3 separate regions of the Homo sapiens genome follow, and regions 2 and 3 are each linked to region 1. Evidence: promoter capture Hi-C in human tissues and cell types (Jung and others, 2019). All regions are on one chromosome and are shown on one strand. Each heading gives the region's core, a stretch centred on a gene start or on the middle of the fragment in contact. The rest is flanking DNA. Distances are from core to core; before and after follow the strand shown. Region 1 holds the start of SEL1L3 (SEL1L family member 3). Region 2 overlaps TBC1D19 (TBC1 domain family member 19). Region 3 has its middle 50 kb from the start of CCKAR.

Region 1 (3,161 bases), core at 232-2,731:
TCTTCAGAATCAAATTCTAATTTCTGCCAGTATCTCCTAAGCAGTTTTTAGCTTCCAAAAAGAAAGACTCCAAATAATGACAATGCCACATAAGTGAAATGAATTCTGGACAATGACACTGCTCTTTTTTTTTTTTTTTTTGGCATTCTGTGAATTTCCTATTACATCAGTTTCATGATTCAGCATTTTCCATTTCATTTATTTACAGTAATATATGGCGAGATAACCCAAGGTTTCTGCAGGATTGTGGAACATAAGTTACTCTGGGCAGGAAGGGTGTCGCCTTCTGTAAATTTACTATTGTTTAGGAGAACTCAAAACAGAAGCAAGCAAGCCCTCAAAGGAACTGAGAAAATTTCTCCCCACTTTGTTCTGAGGGGTCTCAGCTACTCTGGTATTTAAAATAAATGGGTTTTGAAAAATAGGTTACTGCCCTTTAGTTGATGACTAAAACAGAAGCCAAGAAGTGTGCAAATTGCAAACTGACATGCATGAGCCAAACATATTCTCTGAAATGACAATGTTCAAGACGCAGCTAAAGTCACCACTCTGGCGGTAAGCGTGTTACAGAGAACTAGATTTCTTTCCGGCATCCGCAACTTGGCTGGAGTGACCAAGGAGGAGTTGAAGAGCGCTGGAGATGCGAGGTGCGTTGGCAGAAAACTGTCCGGGCCGGGAGGACCCGGTGGAAACTAAAAGGAGGGTCGACGCGGGTGGCGGGCGCCGAGAGTAAGAGGCGAAGTTGGGCACGGGAAGGAAAGGAGCTGCGAGAAGATTGAGAGGGAAGCCCAGGAGGGGTGGGGGGTTGGGGGGTGCTGGAGACTGCGCGCGGCGGGGCGGGGAGCGAACTCCGGGCGGCGAGGCTCCCGGGTGGAGTCGAGGACAAGAAGGGGTCTCGAGGGTAACCCGACCCGGGTCTAGAGAGAGTCCAGGAGGGAAAGGAATGAGCACGAGCGAGAGAGCAGCTTGGCAAGTCCGGTCCAAGCGCCCCTCTCCACGCCCGGGGTACCTATCCCAGGTGCCGGGAACGCCCGGGGCGCAGCGACGAGGAAGAGAGAAAACTAGCAGCGGCGTCCCCGCCCCGCGTGGCGGGTGTCCCCGGCCGCCCCCACCCGCGTCCCCGGGGCCCCGCGCGGAGGGGAAGACCCGGGCAGGGTCCGGCGCTCACCAGGTAGCAGAGCAGGAGCAGCGCGCAGGCAGAGCGGCCGCCGAGGCCCTGGGGGACGCCGCCACTCGGGACCATGGCTGCGGCCCGGGGGCCGACCGCGAGCGGCGGGGGTTGCTGCTGCTGCTGCCGCGGCCACCCGAGCCCCGCGCCGCGCCGCTGCATGGCGAGGCCGCCCGGATCCGGGCCGGAACAGGTCACCTGGTGCAGGGACCGGCCCCCGCCCGAGGCGCCACCTTCCCGCCCGCCCCCGGCCGGGCCGGCCGCCGCGCGCGGGGCCACCTGCCGCCACCTCCGGACCCGCCGCCGCCGCCACTGCCGCTCCCGCCGTCGCCGCCCCCGCAGCCCCAGCCGAGCGCCGGCTCCTCCCCGCCTCCCCGTCCCCGTCCCCTCCCTCCCCTCTGCCTCCCTGCCCAGCCCTCCTCCCGGCCGCTCCCTCTGGCCCCCGGGCTTCCACCCCTCGGAGCAGCGGGCGCCCACGCAGGTGGGCACCGACCCGGGTCCCGCCCCTTGGCCGCCGCCACCCCCCGCCCGGGTCGCTGGGCCCCGGCGCACCCCCCTTTCCCTTTCTCTCTGCTCCTCCCCCGCCCCCCTTCCGCGCTCCTGCTCTCTGCGATCCCCCTCCTCTCCCTCCGGCTCCCTCTTCCTTCTCCCCTCGCGCTCCCAAACCCCCTCTCTTTTTCACTTTCTCCTTTTCCTCCCTTTCCTCTTTCTCCCTTCCCATCCTCTTCCTCGCTTCCGCATTCTTCCTCTCCCACCCACCCCTTTTGCGGGTCGCACAGACCAGTTCCCGCCCGTGCAATGGGTTTTTGTCTGGTTGCTTTTTTGGCCGGGGCGCCATTCCCGCAGGGCGCAGGGCGAGTGTGCCCCCTGGAGTTGTGCCGCGCAGCTGCCCGGCTCCCAGGCCTTCAGGATGGATTTTGACCCCTGCCAACCTCCACCTGTCCACCTGCGGGGTTGGGACTGCCTCCTTGCTGGCATGTTTGCAGCCGGGCTGCGCCCCACCCTGCCGGCTGGTTCGCGGCACGTTCTGGATGTTTCCCGAGGGTTTTGTGTGGTGCCGCCGCCACCGCCACCACTGCGCTCTTTGTTTTAATTGTCCAGAGTATTGGCACCCAGGACGGGTTTGTATTTGATTTGCATCCCTGTGCTCCGGCTTCCACTTTGGACTGAGAAAAAAATGAATTAATTAGGTCAATACAGTAATACTGGAGCCCCAAATGAAAGGGGTGAGGCCCTGGAAGTGCGCAAACAGCTTTTTAAAAAACCAGGACACATCCTCGGCCTTGGGGACGCAGGTTGAGACTGGCTGCTCTCCGACCCGGGTTCTGCGGCCTGGCGGGGAGGGGCCTCCGGCCGGCGGGACCACCAGCTCGCCGCCGGCCTTGGCTTTCAGGGAAGCGCTTGGCTGTGTCTAGCGGCTCCGACAACTATCTGGGCCCGCAGCTGCTGCTCTGAAACAGTTAATCCACCTTCCAAAGTTCGCAGAAGCTTCCCTTTAGCACTGGTAGATTTGTGCGGATTGGAACTAATAATAGCCTGGGAGCCTGAGAGGCCACAGCCCTTTCCCTGTGCCACGAGCATAGGTCAAGTCACAACAGACGTCGGGGAGAGGCTGGTGGTGAGACGGGGTGCCCGGGATGGTTTGACGGGCGTGGACGCGCCCTCAGCTGCTTCAGTACAGGCCTGGCCACACCAGGCATGGTGGCTCCTCAGCTGTCGTCCACTTTTTTTTAGGTCACCTAAGAGCTGTGGCCTTGTGTGAGTTCCCTGGCCTTATTCCACCGGTTCTCAAACTTCAGAATTACCTGGAGGGATTGTTAAAACACAGATTCCTGGACTTCAGCCCTAGAATTTCTGACTCAGTTGGTCCTGGGAGGGACTTGAGAATGTACCTTTCTAACAAGCTCCTGGGTGATGTTAACGCGCTGGTTCAAACAGCCCTCCTCCATTTCCAGAACTATTGGCTTTTAGGGAACTGGGCTCCTGCTCCTCC
Region 2 (3,161 bases), core at 417-2,916, 880 kb after region 1:
ATTTTTTTAAAAACTGAAGCTTTTGGAAGGTTTTTTAATTTTGAATTTAATTTCTTTAATAGATATAGGACTACTTGGGTTATCTATTTCTTTTTGAATAAGCTTCAGTAGTTTATGTCTTTTACTAGGTTATCATATTTATAAACAGAAAGTTATTCATAATATTCTCTATGCTTAGCCTTTTTAATATTTATAGGGTTAGTAGTGACATCATCTTTGTCATTCCTGAGATTAGTAATTGTATTATCTCCCATTTTTTCTTGATTATTCTGGCTGCAGGTTTATCAATTTTATTCATCTTTGAAAGAATCAGTTTTTTGTACCATTGATTCTTTTTCTCTGTTGTTTTTCTACTTTAATTTTATTTATTTTTACTCTTATATTTATTATTTTCTTCTTTTTGCTTGCATTAGATTTATTTTGCTCTTGTCTTTCTGCTTGTTTAAGGTAGAAGTTAGATCATTGATTTGGGACTTTCTTTTTTTCTAATATAAGCATTAATGTTACAGATTTCCCTCAAATTACTTATTTACCTCCACCTAACAAATTTTGATATGTTATATTTTCATTTTTATTTAATTAGAAATGTTTCATAATTTATCCTGTGGTTTCCTCTTTGAATATGGGTTATGTAAAAGTACGTTGTTTAATTTCTAAATATTTGGAAAGCTATCTTTCTGGCATTTATTTCTGTTTTAATTCTGTTGCAGTTAAACAGCATGCTTCACATGATTTCAGTTGTTTTAAATGTGTTGAAGTTTGTTTTTTGATCCAGAACATGATCTGTCTTGGTCCATGTGCACCTGAAAAAAATTTGTATTCTGCAAGTATCGGGCAGAATGTCATATAAATGTCAAGGAATCAAGTTTGTTAATAATGATGTTCAAACCTTGTATACACTTACTAATTTTCTGTCTACTTTTTCTATTAATTATTGAAAGAGAAATGTGATCAGCTCTAATTATAATTGTGGATTTTGTCTATGTCTTCCTTTAGTGCTTTGTCTTTTTCTTCACGTATTTGGATGCTTTGTTTTTAGGAGAATTGATCACTTTATTATTATATAATGTCCTGTTTTATTCCTAGTAATAAATCTACTATGTCTGATATTAATATAGCCATTCCAGCTTTCTTTTGATTATAATTGCATGATACATTCTTTTCTATTCTTTTACTTAACATATTGATTATCAATATCTTTTTTTAAGTGGATTTCTTATCGAAAGTTGGGTCTTCCTATGTGGCAGTCTGTTTCTTAATCGGTGTGTTTATACCATTTATAGTTAATAAAATTGATATTATTGAATTGGAATCAACTATATTACTAAATTTTTTTAGTTATTCCATGTTCTCTTTATTCCTTTTTTCTCATTCTCTGCCTACTTTTGAATTGAACATTTTTTATTCCATTTTATCTCCACTATTAGATTTTTATACTTTTAAAGTATGTTTTTGATAGGTGCCATGAGGTTTACAATATACTTCTTTTTTTTTTTTTTTTTTTTTTTTTTTTGAGATGGAGTCTCACTCTGTCACCCAGGCTGGAGTGCAGTGATGCGATCTTGGCTCACTGCAACCTCACCTCCCTGGTTCAGGCAATTCCCCTGCCTCAGCCTCCCAAGTAGCTGGGATTACAGGTGCACGCCACCATGCGCAGCTAATTTTTTTTTTGTATTTTTAGTAGAGACGGGGTTTCACCATGTTGGCCAGACTGGTCTCGGACTCCTGACCTCAGGCAATCTGCCTGCCTTGGCCTCCCAAAGTCCTGGGATTACAGGTGTGAGCCACCGCACCCAGCCAATATACTTCTTTAATTAATCACATTCTACCTTCAAATAAACTTCAGGCCTAGATGGCTTCACTGGCAAATTCTACCAAGCACTCCAGGAAGAAGTGATATCAATCCTTATTTTTCTGTGGCTACTGTCAAGATTTTTGTTTTCAGTTCTCACCACTTTGATTATGATATATCTAGGCATAGATTTCTTTGGATTTATCCTCTTGGGTGTTTGCTAAGCTTGAATTTATAAGTTTATGTCTTTTGCCAAATTTGGCAGTTTTGACCCATTATTACTTTAAATATTTTTTTCTGCACCATACTCATTCTTCTTTTCTTCTGGCAATCCAGTGGCACAAATGTTCAAACTTTTGATATAAAAGAAAAAAAGAAGATGAAGAAAAATAAGGTTTGTTATTTTCTCACAGGTCCTTGCAGGTCTATTTTTTTTTTTTTTTTTTCCATAGAGATAGGTTCTTGCTTTGTTGCTCAGGCTGGTCTCAAACTCCTGGCTTCAAGTATTCCTTCCTGTCTCAGCCTCCGAAAGCACTGGGATTACAGCCATCACCACACACAGCCCTTCACTTTTTCTTAATCCTTTTTCTGTATTGTGTAGATTGGACATTTTCTACTGATCTATAGTCAAATTCTCTGGCTCTTTCCTCCATCATTCTCATTTTACTATTGGATCCCATCTAGTGAGATGTTTTTGTGTGGTTTTTCGGTTATTGTATTTTTCAGTTCTATAATTTCCATCTGGTTCTTCATACAAAACATATTGAACTGTACACTAATAAGGGTAATTTCTGCTATACTGTAGTTTCCCCTTATCTGTGGGAGATATATTCCAAGACCCCCAGTGGGTGCCTGAAACTGTGGATAGTACTGAGCCCTGTATATACACCATGATGTTTTTCCCTATATATGAATAACTATGATAAAGTTCAATTTATAATTAGGCACAGCAAGAGATTTACAATAACTAATAATAAAATAGAACAATTATAACAATATGCAAGCATCACTACTCTTACTCTTTGGGGCCATTATTAAGTTAAAAAAAAAAGGGTCACTTGAACACAGGCGCTGTGATACCAGGACAGTCAACCTGATAACCAATGTGGCTTCTAAGTGACTAACATGTGGGTAGCACGTACAGCATAGATACACCTGACAAAGGGATGATTCATATCTGGAGTGGGACCGTGCGAGCTTTCACCAGGCTACTCAAAACAGCACACAATTTAAAAGTTATGGATTATTTCTGGAATTTTTCATTTAATATTTTTGGACTGTTGGTGACCACAGTTGGCTATGGGTAACTGAAACCACAGAAAGTGAAACCGTAGGAGGATGACTATACATAAATTATAGCACAATAAGC
Region 3 (3,161 bases), core at 316-2,815, 580 kb after region 1:
GAGTTTCTCCGTGTTGCCCAGGCTGGTCTTGAACTCCTGGGCTCAAGCACTTTGCCCACCTCAGTCTCCCAAAGTGCTGAGATTACAGGCGTGAGCCACCACGCCTGGCCATTAGCCTCTGTCTTTGAGAAAGTATTAATAACTGTTTGCTCTATTAGTTAATTTAGCTCCTCCACAGCCAGAAACTGTGGATGTGGCAATAAATAAAGGCCTGCAACGTGGAGCTTTCCTTCTAGTGGAGAGAGGCAAGAAACAGTATGGATGCATGTTTACCTATCAGAGGGCTCAGAGATAGATAGAATCTGACCATCAAAGGACCTTAGCAGCATCCAGGGTGAGAATTATGTTCTAAATGTACTGATATGTGATGTGGAGCATAAAACTGCTGCCTCTGATGTCACTGTTTATTGCAGTGGGGGTGCCGTGCACATATCACAGTAAGGTGAAGCTGGTTAAGTAACTTAAGCTTAGCCCAGCTGTCTTTCTCTGGGTCTGTTTCAGCCACCTTGAGGTAACCAGCCCCTGGGTATACTATTCATCAGGGTAGAATGACCCCTGTGAACTGTAGGGATCGAGAGAGGAGTAAGAGACAAGGAAATCCCACCAGACACTGACACAGCCGACTGTGACTCTGGGATTCCTATATACCAAGAAGGCGCTACTTAAAGGGTCTCCAAGGAGTTTCCTGATAGAGAACCCCACCTTAGAGTAGAGTCAGACAAGTTGGAGGCGGGACGGAAGAGCCAGGCTGACGAAAGGCAAGGGAACTTGCAGATGGGCTGAGGAAACAGCCTCACTGTCACTCTTGGTTTGGTTCAGGAGTGACCTCTGTCTACCACAGAATGCAACTAGATGAGTAGCAGGGAAGTCTGAAGCGGGAGGTAGGTGGAAGGAGGAGCGAGCTGGGGGTTGAGAGAGGAAATCAAGAGTTTTCGCTATGCCCATTTTGAGATCCCTGTTAGACTTCAAGTTGAAAGGACAAGTAGGCAGTTGGATCTCCATGTCTGGAGTTCGGGGCGATGTCTGTGCTGGATGGGAACATTTGGGAGTCAGTCACTTGGACATGATATTTAAAGCCATCATCCTGATGAGATCACCAAGGGAGGGGTGTATGGAGAAGAGGTGAGCCCCGGGGGAGGGCGTGAGATACCAAGTCACTCTCAGGTCTTCAGTGTGACTCCCGAGATTCTGCATTTTCCAGCATGCTCCCACGTGACACCGATGCTGCTGGTCAAAAGACCCCGCTTCGGGTGGCAGGAGCTTAGTGTGTCCACAGACAGAAGTGAGAGTGATTGACAAGAAGTGAAAGAGTGGCTTTGCTCCATAAAAGTAATTATTTTTAGTGATTGTTACTGTTTTCCAAATAACTGTTAACAGTCATTTTAGAATTTGCTGCCTTGTTTTTTTAAACAGAGTTAAAATTTCTCCTTATACTTGAGAAGGCCCATATACCAAATTACAAATGGGATAGTCAGATAATGTGATAATGTGGCCCGTCTAAAAGCTAAAATGTTCATATGCAACTGTAGTCACGATACAGAGGCTTGCATTACCTAACCGTGTGCATAAACCTCAGAGCCTTTTGACATCCAAGGCGAAGTTGCTGTATGTAGAAGTTCGCATACAGTTGTTGGGCAACTCCTGAGTTTAAAAAACCTTTGGTTTGGGGGAAAAGAAACACCTCAGTTTTAATTGGCGAGCTCCCCTACTCATGAGAGCAGTTCTGCAAATTCAGAGAGGCTAAATTATCACAAAAACCTAATAAGAGGTATCTGTGCTGAGATTCACAGACAGAGACAATCCTCAGAGCTGTGTCTCCTCACTCAAACTGGCCAGGCGTATCTGTAGAGAAACCTTCCTGTGGCCTGGCTCTGGAAGGGCCGTGCTTTCTTTTCCACACTGTGATTTGAGATCTAAATGACACCAACAAAGACACAGGTGCCTTCTAGGGAGGGGATTGTGGATACAAGGTGAGCAGAGAGAAGCAAAGTAGAGGGAGAGGTCCCAGAAATGTGGAGGTCCCAAAGACGGGTTGTCAGAAGACAATTGAGATGTGCACTCCCGTCACTAATGAGATTTGGAACACACGTGTGTGTGAATGTGCATCCCCACTACCACCACACACTGCAAACCTGCTCTGAAAATGTTTCAACAAAACCAAGGAGTCTCTTTTTGGAATGTGATGCTTAACATTTTCTGTCATGTGATTTGAACACCGGCCAAGTGTGTGCAAAGAGCAGAGCTTCGGACACAGTTACTGGAGTTTGACTCATTGTGGACAAGTGGAGAGAAAGACGACTTTGTAGGCACAAGAGCCCAGGCAAACCTGGGGCTTTGCTTTTGTTTTTTGTGTTCGTTTTAACATTTGTAATAGACATGGAGATATTTTCAAAGATTGAAAGTAGCATGTTAGGGCATATGAAATACTTTGTTTTCTGAGATGTAAAAAAATTGCAAACTCACATTTTGTTAACTAGGTGCAGATCACTTCATTATAGTGTTGCCTGAAATATTGCACATCCTAGGCTTTAACTCACTGGAGGCAGCTGATCACTCTCTCATGTTTGAAACTCTTCACATGGCTTCCTGGACACCAAGCTTTCAGGCTGCTCTTTCTCAGTCCGCCTTGCTGGTTCCTTCTCACCTTCCCAACCTCTGCATCTTGGAGAGTTCCAAAACAAAGTCCCATCCCCTGAATTCGGTTAACACAAAATGATGCTATGTGATTATCTTCTCTAAAAGTATTACAAATCCCACCCCATTTCCATACTGATGGAAATTATCTAAAATGAATTAGGGAAATGGACCATCTATCCTTCCAGTTACTGGGAAGTCCTACCCACTTCCTTTAACCTAATAAGAAAATCACCAAAGCGATGGTGCTCCCCACCTGTGCTCCTCCCATGGTGACCTCTCCCCCGTCTCACATTGAAACACCAGCTATATGGAAATGACTCCAGAATTCATAGTTTCTGCCCAGACTTCTCACTTGAACTCCAGAAATGTAGATATAGCTGCTTATTTGACATCTGAAGGCTATAGGCGTTCCAAACTTCTATCTAAAACGAACTCATTATTTCCTTCCCCTTGCCTTCACCTAATCCACCGTACCCAGCCAGGCTTCCACCTTGGGTAAATAATGCCTCATTCTTCCAATTGCT

The links. The method cuts DNA at HindIII sites, captures the fragments that hold promoters and counts their contacts. A contact is called where the count stands out against the background at its distance.
Region 2: a contact is called between a fragment that was not itself captured here and the fragment with the promoter of SEL1L3 in region 1, in 1 of the 25 tissues and cell types used here (lymphoblastoid cells).
Region 3: a contact is called between a fragment that was not itself captured here and the fragment with the promoter of SEL1L3 in region 1, in 2 of the 25 tissues and cell types used here (lymphoblastoid cells and thymus).

What each region holds. Positions count from the first base shown.
Region 1 is chr4:25,861,507-25,864,667 of GRCh38, forward strand. SEL1L3 (SEL1L family member 3) reads right to left here and starts at 1,482. Exons shown (of 24, transcript NM_015187.5): 1 at 1,169-1,482. The coding sequence starts at 1,330. LOC102723733 (a long non-coding RNA gene) reads left to right here. Exons shown (of 2, transcript XR_427503.5): 1 at 1-647. RefSeq lists silencers at 481-775, 1,046-1,505, 1,556-1,715. The HindIII fragment of the contact is 7,102 bases long and covers 1-3,161 here.
Region 2 is chr4:26,744,013-26,747,173 of GRCh38, forward strand. The region is part of intron 18 of TBC1D19 (TBC1 domain family member 19); the gene reads left to right. Among named protein-coding and RNA genes, the nearest start is that of STIM2-AS1, 120 kb to the right of the region's middle. The HindIII fragment of the contact is 3,212 bases long and covers 61-3,161 here.
Region 3 is chr4:26,439,075-26,442,235 of GRCh38, forward strand. No RefSeq gene overlaps it. Among named protein-coding and RNA genes, the nearest start is that of CCKAR, 50 kb to the right of the region's middle. The HindIII fragment of the contact is 3,524 bases long and covers 1-3,161 here.